2 separate regions of the Homo sapiens genome follow, and region 1 is linked to region 2. Evidence: promoter capture Hi-C in 16 types of primary human blood cells and fetal thymus (Javierre and others, 2016). All regions are on one chromosome and are shown on one strand. The core of a region is centred on a gene start or on the middle of the fragment in contact, and the rest is flanking DNA. Distances in the headings are between cores, read along the strand shown. Region 1 overlaps SMYD3 (SET and MYND domain containing 3). Region 2 holds the start of KIF26B-AS1 (KIF26B antisense RNA 1).

Region 1 (7,356 bases), core at 1,425-3,924, 830 kb before region 2:
ATTATGGTTTATGCTGATCCCCTGCTGTCCTTCCAGGAGTCCAAAATTAGAGGCTGCCTACAGGCGATTGAACTCCAATAAAGACCCTGGGTACTGAGTCTCTAATGGGTTTCCCTGACTGGGACATTTCTCACGTTATCACAGCTTTTTGTAGGAGGAGTGAAGTGCCTCCCTTGTGACTCCCTGGGGGAAGGCCCTTGGAGGCTCCCACTCTGTTTCCACAGACTTCTCCCCATGTGCCTTTCCCCTTGCTGACTTCGCTTGGTGTTGTTTCCCTGTAATAAACTGCAGCTGTGAGTACGACTGTGTGCCGAGCCCTGAGAGTCTGCCTAGTAGATAACTGAAACTGAAGGTGGTCTTGGGCTCTTCCTGATGCAGTCAGCTGTGGATGTAGTGGTACCTCTCATAGCATAAAGAACGCAAAAGTGGTAGCAGGTTTGGGAGTGGGAGCAGTGATGCATTCTGCTGTAAGTTTTCCAAGGTAGTCACTTATATTGCTTTACTAGGGTTATTTTGAGCTAGCATTTATTATTATATGTTTTCTATTTCAAAATTAAGTTACCAGGAAAATCTAATTTTTTTCAACATACCTTCGCTCATTAATTAATTCATTCAGCAAGCATTTGCTGAAACGTTATTGAACATTTGGAACTGGTTAGGCATTTTAAGTGCCATAAGGATGCTTAGGAATATGGGTCAAGTGTTCAAAGGGGTTATAAATACACTGGGTAGGTAAGACATCATCTGCCTTTGAAAAATAAAATAGCATTCATTTCAAAAATGAAATGTTAAAATATATCAATATGTAAACATTTTGTCCTTGAGAAATTAACCAAGGCATTCTTGGGTTAGTGGTCCAAATGACTAGCATTTGTAATTGGGAAAATTGTAATCCAAAACAGACACACCACATATTAGGTTCATCATCACTAGGACAATTTTTGTCCTCTTCTGGTGTCACAAGATGTTTAAAACCAAGATTCAGAGTGTTTTCAGTGATTTAGGAGTTCTGTAATTGCAGTCACTGTGGAGAGGTGCTCTAAATTCAGCACATTTTCAGTGGTACTCCTGATGGATGTTTTTTCTCGCAGAAAGGCCAAGTCATTGTCAAATGGTAGACTATAAAGATCCCCAAATCAGTGACTAACCTCTTTATGATCTCGGGGAAATATTCTGTGGATTTTTTTCTCCCCACTCAGGAACAATGAATGGTGACGATCTTTAAGTCAATGATGTGAATGAATCACATGTGGATGAACTAAGGCTCTTTCCTGATTCTCAGTCCTAATGAGCAGCTCTTCATTTAACCTGTGGGATTCGTTTGTGCTGCCCTGAAAAACTATGAAGTTTTGGCTTGAGGTTGTTGAGATCCTAAGGAAATATCAGCCAAATAAGTCATTTTATTAAGTTAGATGAAAAATCAATTCACTTCCCTTTTTCAGATTTTTATATTGTAACGTTGTGGCCTTTTTTCCCTCCATGAAGAAAAATAAGAATTCAATCTTTGGTTTAGAAACTCTGAGAAGCACCACCTCTTGATCAGGCAATGCACGTCTTTGTAATAGTGCCGGTCTATCAAGGCAGCTCTCATTTCATCACTAACGAATCAAAAGCTTCTTTCACATCACTGTTTCTGGGTTTTTGTGTATATTTTGTTAGCTTTAACTTTTAAAATTATTTTATTTTTGAGACAGGGTCTCACTCTGTCGCCCAGGCTGGGTGCAGTCATGTGATCGTGGCTCACAGCAGCCTCAGCCTCGCTCAAGCGATCCTCCCAGTTCAGCCTCCTGAGTAGCTGGAACTACAGGCATGCACTACCATGACTAGCTAATTTTTCTTTTCTTTTTTTTTTTTTAAGTAGAGATGGCGTCTTGCTGTGTTGCCCAGGCTGGTCTTGAATTGTGTTCAAGTGATCCTCCCACCTCAGCCTCCCAAAGTGCTGAGATTATAGGCACGAGTCTCTGTGCCTGGCTTTTTCTTTTTTTCTTTTACCATTTTATTGGACTTGATGTGGATTTCCCTACCACGCATTTGATCCTAAAGAAACTCTATCAGCACATTTTTTCCAGGTGATATGTGTTTGCTGAAATAGTCATATGGTACCTACCAGTCCTTACTCATATATCTTTTTGCAGTTATTTTTACAAGAATTTAAGCACTTGAGACATTTCTTTTTTGTGTGTGTGCGTGTGACGGAGTCTTGCTCTGTCACCCAGGCTGGAGTGCAGTGGTGCCATCTCGACTCACTGCAAGCTCCGCCTCCTGGGTTCATGCCGTTCTCCTGCCTCAGCCTCCCGAGTAGCTGGGATTATGGGTGCCTGCCAGCACGCCTGGCTAATTTTTGTACTTGTAGAGCTGGGGTTTCACCAGGTTGGCCAGGCTGGTCTCAAACCCCTGACCTCATGATCCGCCCGCCTCGGCCTCCCAAAGTGCTGAGATTAGAGGCGTGAGCCACCATGCCTGGCCTAAAACATTTATTTCTAATGAGAATGAATATGTGAATAAAATCAGCATTCTGTTAGGAATGAAAAGGAATAGATGTGTGTAGTCAGCCAGTTAGTGTACACTAAACCAGTTGGTATTGTCAGTAGCAGTAAGAGTGACTGTCTCCTCAGACTTTTGATGGGCTGGCTTAGAAAAGTAACATGAAGATAAAGTGGGTCCTGGATGTCTTTCTTTATGGGAGCTGAGTGATTATGCCAGACATGAGATCTAGGACTCATTTTGCAAATGAAGAAAAAACAGCTGAAAACTTGTCAATAAAAATGATAACCAAAGGAGAAATTATCATATGATCCAATTTAGTAATGACTGAGGGATCATAAAAATTTATTAAAATGAATAACAGTTTATTGCTTTTCTGCTTTTTCTATTTTTTTCCTTTTTTATCTTCAGAAATCAAGAAAGACATTTTGCTGCTTTGGGAATGTTATGCCATTTTTGTCGTTAAACGGAATATTTAGAGTTAAGATATGATTAGGATAAGGTAAAACCTTATGAAATGTTCTCACATATAAATGTATGGAACTTTTCAATTAGCTGTTTAAAATGAAATATTTATATATGGAGATCTTCTCAGATATATAATGTTTAAAAAAAAAAACGCAACCTTTATTTTTATTTTTTGAGACAGTCTCGCTCTGTTGCCCAGGCTGGAGTGCAGTGGCATAATCGTGGCTCACTGTAGCCTCAACTTCTTGAGCTCAAGCCATCCTCCCATCTCAGCCTCCTAAGTAGCTGGGACTACAGATGTGTGCCACCATGCCTGGCTAAGTTTTTTTCTTTTAGTAGAGACAAGGTCTTGTAATGTTGCCCAGGCTGGTCTATCCTGAGTCTGAGCTCAAGTGATCCTTCCACTTCGGCCTCCTAATATGCTGGGATTATTACAGGTGTGAGCCATTATGCCCCGCCAACTTTTTTTTTTAAAGCAATATATTTAGTGGTCTCTGGAGTAGCTCTGTCAACACTGTCGAATTTGAAATTGTAACTTAAGTATTCTGTACTGTCTTCTCTATTTTAACTTTCATATTAATGCTTAAATGCCTACTGTTCCAACATAAATGGATTTTGCTTAACAAATACTGTGAGTGATTGGGCTCTTACCAGTTTAAGCTGGCTTCCACAAGCAAGGGGCACATTTCTTCTTCATTAGTTCTCCTGATTGAGTTTCAGAAAATGAAATCTTATTATGCCACAAAATAATCGTATCTTACTTGCCTTTTTCCTGAAGCTTCTCAAAAGTTTTTAAGACCTTTTAAAAGGAAAGGAATGGTTTTTTTTCTTAAATCCATCTGTTCCTCAGCCTCAAGTCTAAGATAACGTCTGAGATATGTTGTTTTCAGTTTAGACTCACAAGATATGCAGCACTTGGGCATGGCAATGGCTGGCTCACCATGCTTGATAATAAAATAGGAGAAAAAGGTCCTAGTGCCAGTGGAGTCGAGAGAGACAAAACACCTCCAGTTGGTCATATCTCTGTTCAGTTTTTCAGAACAATGGATTTAACTACTTTTAATAGTTCTTCTGTTAGTATAGAATACTTAAAGTCATCTTAATTTGATTTTTTTTTTTCTCTAGGTAAATGTGTTTTATTATCCCTGCCTCTGCTGGCTTAGAAAATCTAGCAAAAGCCTGCCACTTGAGTTGGCTGTAACATCAGACCCAAAGGATCTATTGCCTCCCTCGTTTACTTTTACCGCTGGTGAATTTGCAGTCCATTAGAAATGTGGAGTTGTGGGCCGGGTGCGGTGGCTCACGCCTTTAATCCCAGCACTTTGGGAGGCCGAGGCAGGCGGATCACAAGGTCAGGAGATTGAGACCATCCTGGCTAACACGGTGAAACCCTGTCTCTACTAAAAATACAAAAAAATTTAGCCGGGCATGGTGGCGGACGCCTGCAGTTCCAGCTACTCGGGAGGCTGAGGCAGGAGAATGGTGTGAACCCGGGAGGCGGAGCTGGCAGTGAGCGGAGATCATGCCACTGCACTCCAGCCTGGGCGACAGAGACTCCGTCTCAAAAAAAAAAAAAAGAAATGTGGATTTGAGTAGGTAAATGGGCACCTTTGTTAACTATGAGAAACATTATCTATAGATTACTTTTATTACAATAAAAGTCCTTCTATACTATTTAATTTTGAAAATTTCCAACAATTTTTATTGTTTCCTCAATAAAAATGGTTTTGCTTTTGTGAGCTGCTATAAGTTCTGTAGAACAGCAAAATGTTGTATATGGCTTCTAGACTGCCAGCTGTTATACTTGGCTATAAAAAGCTTTCCTCAAGCTTCCTTGTACTGGCTTTTGAAAGACAATCTTCCAAATGTTTGAGAAAGTGTAAAATTTTTATTTCCCTAGAAAGAGAAAGGCAGGAAAATGACCCGATTCTGCCAAAGATAAATGAATCATTTATTATTTCGTAAGATAACGTGCTGCTTCAGGTTACTGAATGGGGTTTTCTTTCATCATTCATAGTTTCCACCATACATGTTTTTTAAAAAGATGATTTTTGAAGAGCAAATTTAGGTTCACAGCATAATTGAGAGGAAGGTACAGAGTTTTCTCATATCCCTCCTGCCCTCCTCCCCCACCTCCAACACAAAACACACAGCCTCCCTCATTCTCAGCATCCTCTACCAGAGTGGGACATTTGTGACAGCTGATGAACCTCCATGGACTCTTCATTATCACCAAAGTTCAGCTTCTGTTAGCGTTCACTCTTGGTGTTGTACATTCCGTGTTTGGACAGATGAATACTGATATGTATTTACCTTTATGGCATTATACAGAGGTGCTCTGTGCCTCACCTGTTCATCTCTCTCTCAACTCTCATCCCTGGCAACCGCTGATCTTTTTACCGTTTCCATAGCTTTATCTTTTCCAGAATGCTATATAATCGGGATCATACAGCCTTTTCACACTGCCTTCTTTCGCTTAGTAGTATGCATTTAAGATTGCTCCGTGCCTTTTCATGGCTTGATAACATCACTTACTTTTAGTGCTAAATAATTGTCCATTGTCTGGATGTGCAACAATTTGATTATCCATTCACCTTCTGAAGGCCATCTGGGTTACTTCCAAGTTTGGGGAGTTATGAATAAAGCTGCTGTCAGTATCCACATGCAGATTTTTGTGTGGACATAAGTTTTTAACTCCTTTGGGTAAATAACAAGGAGTAAGATTTCTGGATTGTGTGATGAGTATGTTTAGTTCTGTAAGAAATTGCCAAACTGTCTTCCCAAGTGGCTGTACCATTTTGCGTTCCCATCAGCAGTGAACGAGAGTTCCTGTTATTCCACATCCTTGCCAGCATTTGGTGTTATCAGTGTTCCGGATTTGGCCATTCTAATATGTGCGTAGTGGTATCTTCTTGTTATTTTAATTTGCATTTCCCTGATGACATGTGATGTGGAGCATCTTTTCATATGCGTATTTGCCATCTGTATCCATCATACATTTTTAATGCAAAAACTATATTTGAGGAACAGCAATGCATTTTAAGGGAGAGAGAGTGGGAGGGAGGAAAGAAGGAAGGAAGGACAACATTAGTGAATTCAAACCACTACCTGTAAAAGTAGCTTTTTCTTTTTCAGTTCTGCATGTAACTCTACCTGTACCTAGCTATTACAGATAGACCATAGCTGTTATAGGTAGACTATATGGAAGAGGAAGGCTAATATTTATTGAGAATTTCGTATGCCTCTAACGCTATGTTAAGCACTTCACATCCATTATTTAATCATCACAAAAGCCCTTTGAGGTAGATGCAATTATTATTATTGTTATTTTTATAGACAATGTCTTACTGTGTTGCCGAGGATGGACTTGAACTTGGAGTCAGATCTTTCTACCACAGCTTCCGGAGTAGCTGGGACCACAGGCAGGTGCTACTGTGCCCAGATAGTTACAATTATAATCCGCATTTTGCAGTTGAGAAAACTGAGGCAAAGGGAGATCACGTCAGGTCACAGCAGTAGGACGGGACCTGGGAAGTGTGACTGTGGAGTGTGTGTTCTTAATCTGTGTGCCCAATTGTTAAGTAAGGAGAAATTACAAAAGACAAAGGTTTCAATAACTCTTTGCAAGAAGTCCTTAAATGTGAACAGAAGTACCTATTTTCCACACATTTTATGTCCTTTTTTTTTCTTTTTAGTTTACATGTATTTATGGGCTACAGAGTGATATTTCGATACATGTATATAATGCATAATGATCAAATCAGGGTAATTAGCATATCCATCAGCTTGAACATTTATCATTTTTGCCACACTTTTTATCTTGTTGATAGTGCACAATTTTCATGGCTTTGCCTCTTGTTATTTCCCCTCATGTATGTAGGTCTGGTGAAATCACACGTAGGGAGAACATTTTTACAATGCACATTTGTGAAGGCTTAGAAACACGGTGGTTACAAACTGAGCTTTGCCACTTAATCTCGTGTGACCTGGATAAACGACTTCATACCAAACTTCATATAGTTTCCTCATCCATAAACCTGTAACACTCAGGCTTATTGGAGTAACATATGAAATGGAGGTTATCTAAGTATTTGTTGAATGAATGTCCCCCTGCCCGCACTCCCTCCGTTTTTTTCTTTTTCTCCTGCTTCCTATGAAATAGAAAACTGGTAGGCATTGCAGGATGAAATGAGGAAAGGCAGGGAGGAGAGGCATAAAATATATTCTTGCTAATTTGCTAGTGTCTTTTTTTCCCCTCATCAACTTTATTGAGCAATAATTTTATGCAGTTAAATGAATCTATTTAATTGGATGAATTTTGACAGTTTTATATACCCATGAAGCCACAGTCACAATCAAGATAGAGAACATTTCCATTACTTCCAAAATATTTCTGTGCCACTT
Region 2 (6,575 bases), core at 3,697-6,196:
TGAATCAAAAATGTGTTCTTCACCTATTAATGGCATTAAGTTTTTGATAAAAATTGATGCAAAGAAAGAATTCGCTTTCTAGTAAATCATTAAAACGTAGCTCTTCTGGAAAGTGAATCAGATGGTCATTTTTATTGGCTCATGACCTGTTTTATTGGCCTCATGTCAATATCTGCTTCTTCGCCTTGTGCAACATCATCATTTTCTGCGGGACTGCAGCCTGATATCTGCACGGATGACGGAAGAACATGGAGGCATTCTCTGGAGGACGCGTTAACTCCTGCCCATGTCCATCTTCCACTAAATGTCCTGGGCCTCCCACTACACAGGCCATTCTGAGAGGGGAAGTAAAATGAATGGGCTGGGAGAAGGACAGCGACGTGAGGCAGAAAATACAACTCTTGCAGTAGATGGTGGAAAACGAAATTAGACGTAAGAAACCACGTCTCCATATCAAGAGCTCCTCAAAGTCGGGTCTACAGAGAGTTTGCTACCAACACCCAGAAGGAAGTGTAGAAATTGAGACTAAGCATTTAGAATTTTTTGCAGCAATATGTATAATTTTAGATCAATTGGGGTTTTTTTGTTTTGTTTTGTTTTTTGAGACAGTTTTGCTCTTGTCACCCAGGCTGGAGTGCAGTGGCACCAACTCAGCTCACTGCAACCTCCGCCTCCCAGGTTCAAGCAATTCTCCTGCCTCAGCCTCCCGAGTAGCTGAGATTACAGGCGCCTGCCACTACACCCAGCTAAATTTTTGTATTTTTAGTAGAGATGGGGTTTTGCCATGTTGGGCAGGCTGGTCTCAAACTCCTGACCTCAAGTGATCCACCCGTCTCTGCCTCCCAAAGTGCTGGGATTACAGGTGTGAGCCACCATGCCCAGCCCAATTGTTCTGAGTAATAAAAAAAATTGAGGACTTTTTAATGTCTTTTGGGTTTGGGATTTTTTTCCATTTTTCTATTCATTTTTATTGTCTTTGATGGATAGGTTGATCTGCAACACGATATGGAAAATTTGAAAACTGGTCCTTCATCAAATACAGTTTGAGAAGCACTGCTCTATATCACTCTCCTATGTTTAAAAAGATCAGAGTTTTGTGATTCTCAAATGACAATATTCTTTTTTTTAGATGAGATGAAGTTTCTGTCACGCAGGCTGGAGCACAGTGGTGCGATCTCGGCTCACTGCAACCTCTGCCTCTTGGGTTCAAGTGATTCTTGTGCCTCAGCCTCCTGAGTAGTTGGGATTACATGTGCCTGCCACCATGCCCAGCTAATTTTTGTATTTTTTTTAGTAGAGATGGGGTCTCACCATGTTGGTCAGTCTGGTCTTGAACTCCTGACCTCAGGTGATCTGCCTGCCTTGGCCTCCCAAAGTGCTGGGATTACGGGCATGAGCCAGCATGCCTGGCCAAATAACAACTTTTTTTTTTTTTTTGAGACAGGGTCTTGCTCTGTTGCCCAGGTTGGAGTGCAGTAGTGCAATCATGGCTCACCACAGCCTCGACCTCCGGGGCTCAAGTGATCCTCCCATCTCAGCCTCCCAAGTAGCTGGGACCACAGGCACATGTCACCACGCCTGATTAATTTTTACTTATTTACTTAGCAGAGATGAGGTCTCACTATGTTGCCCAGGCTGGCTCTGAACTCCTGAGCTCAAGCAACCTTCACGCCTTGGCCTCCCAAAGTGCTGGGATTACAGGTGTGGAACACTGCACCCAGCTACAATATTCTTATTTGAACAAAAATTTGCAGACTCCCTGTATTAATCCAAACAAATACAGTCTGTACAAAAGACAGTGTTGCCAGTAAAGAATGGAAGGAAATGTGTGTGTTTCCGAAAGGCTGAAAGTAGTAAACTGGGAGCTCCCATAAAGGCTTTTTTGCCATGATGCTCATAGACCCCCTGGGCCCCGGCTGCAGCATCACCATCCACCAGGGTACGGTTTTGCTAAGCAAGGGAAGCAGGCCTTACCACGGCTGGGTGATCACAGGGACCATCACCCACCCAAGGCTTCCTGGGTGCTGGAGGAGCACTTTCCCGTTACAAAAACTCCATCCAGATGGCTTCCAGGAGCCAACAGTGCCTTGAAATGGGTGGCAGGAGGGCAGACCAGCTAACAGAGAAATAAGATGATGCCATATGTCCAGAGAGAAGGGAGGTTAAACATTCACATCTGCTCTAAGTCGTAGTCTAAGGATGGACTTTAGAGTTGCGTGGTATGAGACAGAGCTGTAAGTTACATCTGTCTAGCCCTCATTTAGCAAAGGACACGCCACCAGGGGCAATGGGCAAGAATGGGAGGAAGAAAGAAGGGAAGAAGTAGAAAGAGGGAGCAGAGGACAGAGGAAGAAAGAGAGATAACCAGCCAGCCAGTGTGCTGCTGAAGACACCACGATCTTCATTGCAGACAAATTCTGCTACGTTGTGAGCCTTAGAAGCATTTGTGATCACACGGACCAGAGACTCAGTCCCAGATCGGCCTTAAGTAATTTCAGACAAGTCACTTTACTTCTCTGTGCCTTATGTTTCCATCTACAAAATGAAGGTGTTGGGCTATGTGGTCTCATTCATTTATTCAAGCAACACACACTGATTAGGCACCTACTGCATGCCACCCATGGTGTTCTGCCCTGGGGATACAGCAGCGAGCAAATCCCAGCCCCCACGGGGCTCACGGCCACACACACTCAGTATTCCTTTCCCCTAGCATTGGCATTCTCAGATTCCGCATCATGTATTTTTATTTCTACACTCCATTGTTTTCAGGTTTAGACATTCTTACCAAAAATAGGAAAGGACAAGGAAAAATCAAGTCGCATGCATTATAAAATTTGCTTCAAGAAAATACAACATACCAAACTTCAACCTTATAAAACAAATTTTATTCATAGCATTGCTAACATTATAGGTTTATAAGAAATTCACTTAAAGGTTCTTTTAAATAATAAAAATCCTATAGTTCACATATTAATAATTATAATATTGATTGTCAATTACGTCCCAGGAACTATGCTAAGCCATTTTATACGCAATATCCTTTAACTTTCACAATAAATCTATGATGGAGGCAACATTTATTCCCATTTTAGAGTTGAAGACGTTGAGGCTGAATGAGGTTAAAACTAACTTGCCCAAAGCCCATGGCTGGTAAATGATAGAACCAAGACATGAACTTGGCACTTACATGCTTAACTTTCTTACCTGTATACACCTTGGTCATTAAAACATAAGTGATGCCAGAGGCTCACTCACGCCTGTAATCCCAACATTTTGGGAGGCCGAAGCAGGCAGACTACAAGGTCAGGAGTTCGAGACCAGCCTGACCAGCATGGTGAAACCCCGTCTCGACTAAAAATAGAAAAATTAGCCAGGCATGGTGGCGCACACCTGTAGTCCCAGCTACTCGGGAAGCTGGGGCAGGAGAATCACTTGACCCCAGGAGGTGGAGGTTGCAGTGAGCCAAGATGGTGCCACTGCCCTCCAGCCTGGGTGACAGAGCGAGACTCTGTCTCAAAAAAAAAAAAAAAAATAAGTGATGCAGTGTGTACAAGCAGCTTATAGTGGTGGGGTGTTTTGGGAAGGCGATAAGCACTGTTTATTCTAACTACTCAAAAACTTATGCAAATGACAAACCCGGTATTTCACTCTCATGTCTTAAAATTGTACACACTGTTCCTGCTTAGCACACTGACTATTATTTCAGGAGCTTCAGACTTTACTCCAGTTTTCTGTGGACTTTTCCTTTCTATCTATATTCTGAACCCTTATTCCCTTCCTCCCTCCCTCCTTTCCTTCCCTCTTTCTATATTCTGAACCCTTCCTTCCTCCCTGCCTCTCTCCCTCCGTCTCTCCCTTTCTTTTCTTTTCTTTGTTTCCAGAGTCTCTGTCACCCAAGCTCGAGTGCAGTGGCGTGATCATAGCTCATTGCAACCTCAAACTCTTAGGCTCAAGCGATCCCCCCACCTCTGCCTCCTGAGTAGCTAGAATTAAAGGTGAATGCCACCATGCCTGGCTAATTTTTCTTTTTTTTTTTAAGGAAAGGATCTTGCTATGTTGCCGAGACTGGTCTGGAACTCCTGGCCTCGAGCCATCCTCCTGCCTCAGCCTCTCAAAGCACTGGAATTACAAGCATGAGCCACCACACCCAACCCGTATGTCTTAACGGAAATTTAAAAGCAAATATTATTGAACTGACACAAATGTTCACTTTGAATGACAAAGGACACCTACCTTTAATTAACTATGGCCTTTGAAGTATAACCTTAAAGCAAGAGAGTAATGACCTAGTTTATACAAATCTAACATATTCGAATATTTTCCTGAACACATCAGCTCCACAAAGGAAGGGAAGCGGAGCCCCTCCACAGGCAACTCAACCCAGCGCAGTAGGGACAGAGGAGGAGGCCGAAGGGACAGTGTCAGTTGACACTCTCAGCTCCACCAGGCAGGAGGATGGGGAAGCAGATCTCTCCCACGGACTCTGCCTTCTGAAAGACACAGGGGCAGGAGGCCAGGAGGACCTCCTGCAGAGCCAGCCTGTGTGCCACCGGGTGTCCAACGGATTGGCTAATGGGCCCACTGCTGCTGGCGGAGGGCAAGTCCTTTTAACACAACAGGCTTTTATTCTCTTAGAAACACTTAATAGCAGGCCGGTGTTGCGAGGCCTGGAAACGGCGCTCCCCTGCTGAGCTCACGCAAGTCAAAAGCTTTCAGCCAAACCAAGGAAATGCCCTGCTGAATAAATCAGTGCCCTTCTCCTCGCTTTTCTTCTTTGCAAGCCGCCGGGAAGAACTTCCACCTGCAGACTGGAGCACCCCAAGTCAGGAGGCCAAATTGCGGGCCCATCTCCAACCCAGTCCTGCCCACATGTAACCCAGGAAACACTGCTGTCTCACCAGCACGCCTCACCACACTGGGAAAGTTCTCCCGCCCAGTCCTGTAGCCATCCCTCCCTGCACGCAGAAACGGGAGGTGCACCCAGGAAGCCCTGAGGCCTGGGAGACCCATCTCCATGGAGCACCCCACGAGGCAAGCACAGCACTCAGGCTCACCTGGGGCTGTGCCCCCTGACAGGTGTGTGACGTGTGTGAGTGTGAGTGCGAGGTACAAGTGTGGGTACCACCCAGCCCGGCAGGGGGGCGTTAGATACCATTTTATTGGGTATTTACTTAGAGGTATCAAACAAAGTTCCAACAACGAGAAAGTTCAGAATTTCCTCCACTGGGAACAGGCTACGGTGTTGAAATTTCTTTTTTCTTTTCTTTCTTTTTTTTTTTAAGAGGGAGTCTCGTTCTAAAGGCCAGGCTGAAGTGCAGTGGCGCGATCTTGGCTCACTGCAACCTCCACCTCCTAGGTTCAAGCAATTCTCCTGCCTCAGCCCCCTGAGCAGCTGGGATTACAGGTGCCCGCCACCATGCCCAGCTAATTTTTGTATTTTTAGTAGAGACAGGGTTTTACCACGTTGGCCAGGCTGGAGTCTCAAACTCCTGACCTCAGGTGATCTGCCCGCCTCAGCCTCCCAAATTGCTGGGATTACAGGTGTGAGCCACCGCGCCCAGCCCGAAACATTATTTCTAAGTCCCAATTTTCCATTAAACTAGTATCATGTATATCATTCACAAATAACATGTATTTATGAAGCTGGGCACTCTACTGAACACCACAGATGCATGATCTCAGCAAATGCTCACTCTCATCAGACAGGACAGGTACTAATAGTGTTCCCATGTTAAGTTTACAAATAAGAAAATTATGACAGAGAGAACATGAGATTTGGAATATGTGTCTGTGGTTAGTTAAGAGATTTTTTTTTAAGTGTGTGTAGGGAGAAAGAAAAGTGGCAGGTGGCAAATCAATCTTGTTCTAGCTGGACACTAAGAGTCTGCAGTGTTTCTCACACTTTATGTACATACAAGTCACCTGGGTATCTTCATACAATGAGAATTCTGTTTCAAGAGATCTGGTATGGGACTGGAATTCTGCATTTTCTAACAAGTACCCAGGTAATATCTTTCCACTGGTCCTCAGGTCACGCTTTGAGTAGCAAGGTACTAAGGATGAGGACAGAGAAAATCACTTTACATATGAAATTGTGCATAAAGTTTTGCCATGCCTAAAACTTGGGGTCTATGTGATTCCAGGATCTTTCTACAAAGTAGAATATTTCTTGATCACTGCAATGTTCGATATAACTTAAGGAGTAACACATTCACAAGGCAAATTCTACAGAATCATTCACTTCCTTCTGGGCCCTGTGAGCCTCTTGGAGGATGGAAATGTGTCCTAATCATTTCATTATGCCCAGAGCCTCATACATTGTTTGTCATTTACTCAGTGACTAATGAACGCTTGCTGAGAAAGTGCGTCTGTAATCCCGTTAGTTTCCACAAGTGAGATGAAGATGCCAAGTAATCAGGCTACAGACCCTACAATTAGGGCAGGGATAGCAAATATATTTCAACTTCCAACAAATGCAGATAGAGTAGTAATGGCTGCCTCGTGTGCTACGTTGAGTAGAATTCTGAGGCTTCACTGGGGCTCAGTGAAAAAGAGAACCATTGCCAAATCACATA

The links. Contacts are between HindIII fragments. The CHiCAGO score rates a contact against its expected background, and 5 or more counts as called.
Region 1: a fragment that was not itself captured here is called in contact with the fragment with the promoter of KIF26B-AS1 in region 2 in 1 of 17 cell types (total B cells); the score reaches 5.4 in total B cells.

What each region holds. Positions count from the first base shown.
Region 1 is chr1:246,056,056-246,063,411 of GRCh38, reverse strand. The region is part of intron 5 of SMYD3 (SET and MYND domain containing 3); the gene reads left to right. Among named protein-coding and RNA genes, the nearest start is that of SMYD3-AS1, 49 kb to the left of the region's middle. The HindIII fragment of the contact is 2,117 bases long and covers 1,616-3,732 here.
Region 2 is chr1:245,232,888-245,239,462 of GRCh38, reverse strand. It overlaps KIF26B-AS1 (KIF26B antisense RNA 1), which reads left to right and starts at 4,946. Exons shown (of 5, transcript NR_151721.1): 1 at 4,946-5,076. All of the region lies in intron 2 of KIF26B (kinesin family member 26B), which reads right to left. RefSeq lists an enhancer at 4,402-4,921. The HindIII fragment of the contact is 7,889 bases long and covers 4,712-6,575 here.